2 separate regions of the Homo sapiens genome follow, and region 1 is linked to region 2. Evidence: promoter capture Hi-C in 16 types of primary human blood cells and fetal thymus (Javierre and others, 2016). All regions are on one chromosome and are shown on one strand. Each heading gives the region's core, a stretch centred on a gene start or on the middle of the fragment in contact. The rest is flanking DNA. Distances are from core to core; before and after follow the strand shown.

Region 1 (3,348 bases), core at 433-2,932, 1.1 Mb after region 2:
TGATGGGTGCAGCAAACCACCATGGCACATATATACCTATGCAAAAAACCTGCACATTCTGCACATGTACCCTAGAACTTGAAGTATAATTTTAAAAAAAAGGAGCCTGTTTTAATAACGTTCTCTAGATTTTGGCCTCAACCAACGTCAAGCCAGCTGGTCTTCAGTATACTCGTGAAATATTTTTCTCCATCTTGAAGACTGTGGTTGTTTTGCTCGTCTTTGTTTTCCTCTGTACGCTGAGGGTTAACACGCAGGTGTCTGGAGCTCTCACACACAAAGTTCTCGTCTCACTACCCTTCCGGGTCATTGCCCAAGGTCTTGAGACTTACAACCACTTAAGTTGTTTCCATATAGTTTTATCATCTTATTTCCCAAATGGCTTTGTTCCCTGTTACTGATGTTGGTTTTATCTTCTTCAGGACACAAACCCTTCTCTGGACAGAGAGACAGACTTGAAATGCAAATTGAGCAGGTCTAATTGTTTTCTATCATCCTCAACTCACTTGGAAGCACCAAGTCCACTCTTCCTTATTTTTACTTTGTCTAGGTAGCCAAATTAACCTCTTGTATAGTCAGTCCTTAGCCTTTTAAAAGAAAGCATAACTCTTATTTATGGCTTTTAAATATTTCTTGAAGTTGGTGAGCAATAAATGACCTACAGAAGTACTTGGGAAACCTGATGTTAATAAAGAAGTTTTGATTAGCTTGTCAATTACTTGAATATAAAAAAATACTTCTAAATGGCTTAAAAACCCTTTTCAATTTTAATATCTTCAAAATTCCCATAGCAATTATTTATACTGACAGTTGGCTTACAAACATCTTTATCACGAATGGGTCTTTTTTAATACCACTTCCTGGTTGTCAGAAGTATCAAGTTACTGGGGTCCCCATGAATTGGGAAGTTAGGAAATAGACAGAAGTCTTGACACAAAGTGTACTATGATCAGAATCCAGACTGTTGGGAAGACTGACTTTCTGTGTCTCTCCTTATGCAACAATGTGAAAGTTATTCCATGACTCTGAATCACCAGTTTCTTGCCTATGTAATACTATTACTATATTACTACCCCCACAGGGCTGTTGGAAAGATTGAGTTATAACTCCATAAAGTGCCTGGCTTATAACAGGCTCTTAAAAGATGTTAGCTCCCTCCTCCCCACCTCATGTGACTTTGAACACTTATATAACCTCTCTAAGATTCAGAAAACCTCTAACATGAGTTCTTTGTTGGGTTATCTGAATACTTTCTAAGCTTAAAGATTACATATATCCTAATTGTCTTAGTACTCTAATAATACTACATCCATCAGAAAACCCATTGCTTCCTGGGATGCCACTGGTCTTCGTCCCCCCACCTACCCTAATCCAGCAATATACCAGGTGACCTGGGAATCTAATAGCCTGGCCTGGTTAATAAGCACATACCAAGAAGGACTTTATTTCAGTCTAAGTGGCAGGGTCATCCAGGACATTAAAAATTCTGAAGTGCACCAAAGACCTCGGAATTCCCACATCTTTTGGAGGCTGTGATGATGTATACCTACAAAAAACATACTGAAATACTGAACTACTGCCTGGTCAATTTTGCCTTTAGGGCCAACTAGAACATTAACCACACTCTGTATCTCTCTACAGGGACAGGCCTAAGATATTGCAAACCTGGAATTGATAAACACTTGGTAAATCTTGCCACTCATGATCCCTTACCCATGGGATCCCATCAGCAATGAAACACAGCACCACTTCCCACTATCCTTTCTCAGCAGAACATTCCAAGAAACTGCTACCAGCCTGTCACATTGGCATGCAAAGGAAAACCTAACTGCCATGTTCTAGTCTCTCCTGTCAGTGAGGATAATGAGAACTAAATAGGCCATTTTACTTTTCTGAGGTCACACTATGAAGCAACAGAACTGGATATTAGGGTCTGTTTTTTTCATTTTGCGAATGGTCTTTGCTGCAATAGTCAAAATGCACTGGAGGTGTTTTACATGTTAACAAGGGTGTTTTCACAGCGAGCCGTGATGCACATGGGTGTCAGGGTTGAGGATTTGCCACTCACAAGCCAGAGTATCTGAAGAACTGTGATAAAAAGCTTCTTGTTTAAAAGGCTTAGGTTAGGTCAGTAGTTAAGTTCTAGCCAGACAATGACTAATAGCAGGTTTTAATTAGTGAGAACTATGAGAAAAGAAGAGAAAGACTTTTGCTGCTGGAATTTAATAATGGAATTTCCAGTAAATAATAACAATCACCTCAAGGATCAAAAAACGTTATGCCCACATTTGATCACAAAATGGTCGGAATTTATGCACCTATCTCTGTCTGCTGGCAGAGGCTAATGACCCATGTCCTTGAAATGAATCAGGGCAGGGAAAGTTGTAAACATTCTAACTTCCCTGTTTCTTCCCAGGAGCTCACTCAAATGTGTAATCAATCTCAGTATCAGTTCCACTAGACTTCATGGGGGAAGAAAAAGAACACGTTTTTTGTGGGGAAAATAGTGCCATTCATTCTCATTGGTCTAATTCAGGGATGGTCTTCAAAAGAGCCTGAGAGATGGAAGGAAGACTGTGTCTGTGCGCAGCATCCTCAAATTCCCTGTCCATCTCTGGACTATTGCCTAGAATTTTGCCCTAGCACCTTATCTCTCCAGCTCAATGATTCTCAACCAACAGGCTGTACCTGAAGGGCACCTGAAACAATAGGAGGCTTTTTCAAACTACTTGTGTCAAACCCAGCCCCCACCACTTCCAGTTGCCCTCTCCAACCCCTCCAGTGTGTTCTTCCATGTGAGAGCCATAGACAGCCCTCCACTCAGGAAGTGGTCCATAACCCACAGCAGTGTTGGATGGAAAAAAATATTAAGAATCCGATTTAGCCTAACACCCTGATCTCTCTGGAAATTGTAACTGGCACAAGGAGTTCATCTCGAGTTTCTCCAAGTGATCGTGCAGAATGCCCTGTGTTCATTCACGCATTCAACAACAGGGATTCAACACGTGTGATGTGCCAGATACAGGGCTTAACACTGTGGCACCAGGGAACATAAGTCTCAGTCCCTGTTCTCAACCACTTCACTGTCCACAGAGGAAGACAAAATAGTGTTAGCTTGATGCAAAAGTAATTGCTGTTTTTGCCATTGAAAGTAAGGGCAAGACCAGGCCAAGCACGGTGGCTCACACCTGTAATCTCAGCATTTTGGGAGGCTGAGGCAGGTGGATTACCTGAGGTCAGGAGTTCTAAGTGGTGGATTTTTTAAATGTGATGTTTGGGAGAACAACATTGAGCATAGCTGAAAATGTAGGGACTCCTGGGAAGTGGAGAGATGTCAGCACCAGATTG
Region 2 (3,217 bases), core at 354-2,853:
CAGCGAGGACACAGGACGCCCTAGGTAACGTCCTCCCCGCTATTCTGCTCTTCTCAATTCAAGGGCCGAGACAACTTGCTTTTGTGGAAAAGGGAAGTAAAGGGAAAAGAGGAAAGCAAGGAAGTTCAGTCAGAAAGAGGAAGAGGGACAAAGAGGAAAGAAAGGGACAAAGAGGAAAGAAAGGGACAAAGAGGAAAGAAAGAGGGACAAAGAGGAAAGGCAAGGAGAAGAGAAGGAAAAATCAAGGTTCAGCAAGAAGTTGGAAGGCGAGGGAAAAAGGGGAGTAAAGAGAAGGCAAAAGAGGTCTAAGGGCTAGGAAGATGCAAGGATCTTTTTTTAACGAACCAAAGTCACATCCATCTTTCACTTTCAAATCAATCGTCTAGATCTTATCCGTTTCCTTTTTAAAGGTTATCTGCGTCTGTAAAGGAAGCCAGTAGTTGATACTCCTCTCCGCGCCCCACGCGTGGCCGCGCTGTTCTATCTCCGGCCACTGAGATCAAATACAACGCGAGTGAGAACATTTGCAGAGGCGCGACTCTGGGAACACTCCTGCGACTGGCTGTCACCCGGGAGTCTAACCGGATTAATACTCAGAGATGGATTACGCTGGTTGTCACCAATACGCCTAAAGATTATAATCCAATTTACGCACATTACAGTCAGTATTAACTTTATCTGCTATTTTAAGACTCCCGGTTGCCCCGCGCGTCCTCAGAGGACAATCCTCCACGTTCTGATGCAACTCAGTAGGCTGTCAGGAGGGGAAGCCCCCCGAAGAAAACAACTCCAAGCCTGGTCCCCGAGGGTCTGTACCCGGCACTCCCAGGTGTCTTGCTTTCACCTGGGCACCGCTTTATGAAGCTTCCCAGCCGGGGATTACCAAAGCGGAAGGCGTTCCCTTGCAAGGAAATAGCATCCTTGTTTCTCCCTTGTTCATTTCATTTTCAAATTTTCGGTGGCGGTGGCAGAAGGGCGGGGAGTGAGGGTGGCGGGCGGGTGCCTGTGAGTGGATGGGGCAGGGGGCCAGGGGATCGTTGCGGGTTAGAACAGCCTCAGTCATTGCTATTTTCATGCTCGTTTTTTGCAGGATGGCATTTCTCTCGCTCTCTTTAAGTAAGTTTGTTTGGGTGTGAGTTCTTGTCTTTTCAGCACAAAACCACAGAAATACGTGGTGGAAAGTAAAAGAAAGCCCACTCCCTCCTCCCCGTGCGTACTAGCTAAGGACTTGATTTAACACCCCCTCTCCGGCTGCTGAGGGCTCTAAGCAGTGGCTACATTCCAGCAGTTTTAATCCGTTTTTTATTGTAGGGCGAGCAGAGTTTACACAGGGGCTGGGATGGCTCCCCAGCTGGCCGCTCTCCCCACTCCTGCGTCCCCTCCCTGCCACCCCCCCAGCAGGAACCTGTTACTTTAAGCGAGGCTTTCCAGTGTGGCGCTGCGGGCCGCCGGGGTTTCGGGAGGTGGCAGGTGATTGGCTCTTTCGAGCTCCCCCTGGCTCGCTCGCTCTGCCTCCCCGCGCGCTCCGCCCCGCCCGCAAGCCCTCCCTCCGCCCTGTGAGGCTCGGAGCCCGGGTGTCAGGCGCCACGGCGCATGCTCCGCAATCATCTTCTTTACCCTGGAGCTGCTGCTGCTGCTGCTGCTTTTGCTTTTGGGGCTGAGTTTAATAAGCGAGCGAGCGAGCAAGCGAGCGCGGGGGGAAAAAGGCAGAGAATGTCCGCCATCTACCCTCCGCTCCTGGGCGCGCTCTCATTCATAGCAGCCTCTTCATGAATTACAGCTGAGGGGGGGCGGAGGAGGGGGGGGTACCACACAACACCCCAGCAAACCTCCGGGCCCCCAGGCATGGCTAGCTCGGTAAGTACGCGCAAAAATAATAATAAAAGCCCTCCCCCACTTTCCTTCCTCGCCCTGCGCCGCCGCAGCCCAGACAGCGCCAGCGCTCCGCGGTTCCAATTAGAGAAAGGTTGGTACGGCTTGCAGGGAGCTGCCGCCTCTCCCTCAGCCTCCGCTCCCCTCCTCCCCCACCCCCCCCCGGCGCGCACACAGACACACAGACACACACACACTCACACACGCTCACACTCGCCCCTCCACCCCCCGCGCCTCCCTCCCTCCTCGCCTCTTTGCAGTCACAAGAAGCGCACTCACACACTCCCTCTCGCTCACACGCGCGCACTCACACACACACACACACACGGTGGAAGGAGGCGAATAATAACTCAGCCATATTTCAGCCGCCGCCGCCGGGAGCTGCGGGCACAGTCCGGGGACGCGGCGAGCAGCCTCGGCGGCCGCACCTCCGCAAAGCGCCGCGGCCGCTACGATGGTGCGTTCTCCGCGGCGCGCGTGTGTGAGCCGAAGTGTGCGGGGCTGACAGCGGCGGGGCCGCACGCAACTTTGCCCCAGCGCCGGGAGGTGCTGAGCGCGAGCCGAGGCTCGGCGGCTGTCCGCCCGCCGCCCTGCCTTTCTGAATTTCATTTTTTGGGGGGAGGTGGGAGATACTTTGGAGCCACTTGGGCTCTTGAAAGTGTGTTGCGGGGGCTCGGTTCGACTGGCCTCGCCGATCGCGTGGGGCTTTTCGCTGGGGGGTGCGGGGTGCTCTAAGTTATGGATGCCTCGGCGTGTTTTCCTGCGGGCGTGTGTGTGTGTTTCAGTGTGTATGACGACGTCTCATTTTTGTTGTGCACGAACCCCGTGGCAAGAGCACGGGAGTTTGTGCCCATCAGCAGAGGCTGCCTGTAGTTTCCATTTCGCCTGGCACAGCGCTCCACACGCACGCACACACACGTACACAAAGACTTCCTCGGCGTGTGCCTGTCGCCGCGGTACTTTCGGGGAGGGGGCTCGCCAGGAGCCCTTCGGTCCCCCTGGGTCCCAGCCACCTCCCCTCCCACGCCGGGAAACCGCCCCGGCATCGCCTTCTGATTTGTTTCCGATGCATTTGTTGTCGTGCTTGTCGTGGCTGAGTGTGTTCTCCCTCTTTTCCCCGACCCCCTTCCCGACTGGGGATAACATTCCGTTACAATCCTGTCCGATGTAGATGCGGGGCCCGGGGCGCCTGGGGCCAAGCCGGGCCGGGCGGGCGGGTATATTTGGGGGTGTGGAGTGTGCGCGCCCACGCGCGTGAAACGTGGATGCAGAGGGCACCGCCGTTTCCTTTTATGTGCGTTTCAAGAAGGAGGAAAAAAATGTCAGGCGCAACGTTCACTGCCGA

The links. The method cuts DNA at HindIII sites, captures the fragments that hold promoters and counts their contacts. A CHiCAGO score of 5 or more calls a contact.
Region 1: a contact is called between a fragment that was not itself captured here and the fragment with the promoter of MLLT3 in region 2, in 1 of 17 cell types (M0 macrophages). The highest score is 5.3, in M0 macrophages.

Annotation. Positions count from the first base shown.
Region 1 is chr9:19,495,907-19,499,254 of GRCh38, reverse strand. All of the region lies in intron 4 of LOC105375988 (a long non-coding RNA gene), which reads right to left. Among named protein-coding and RNA genes, the nearest start is that of MAP1LC3BP1, 34 kb to the right of the region's middle. The HindIII fragment of the contact is 843 bases long and covers 1,261-2,103 here.
Region 2 is chr9:20,620,885-20,624,101 of GRCh38, reverse strand. It overlaps MLLT3 (MLLT3 super elongation complex subunit), which reads left to right and starts at 1,603. Exons shown (of 11, transcript NM_004529.4): 1 at 1,603-1,857. The coding sequence starts at 1,846. RefSeq lists silencers at 1,005-1,144, 1,165-1,624, 2,045-2,194, 2,265-2,314. The HindIII fragment of the contact is 2,564 bases long and covers 867-3,217 here.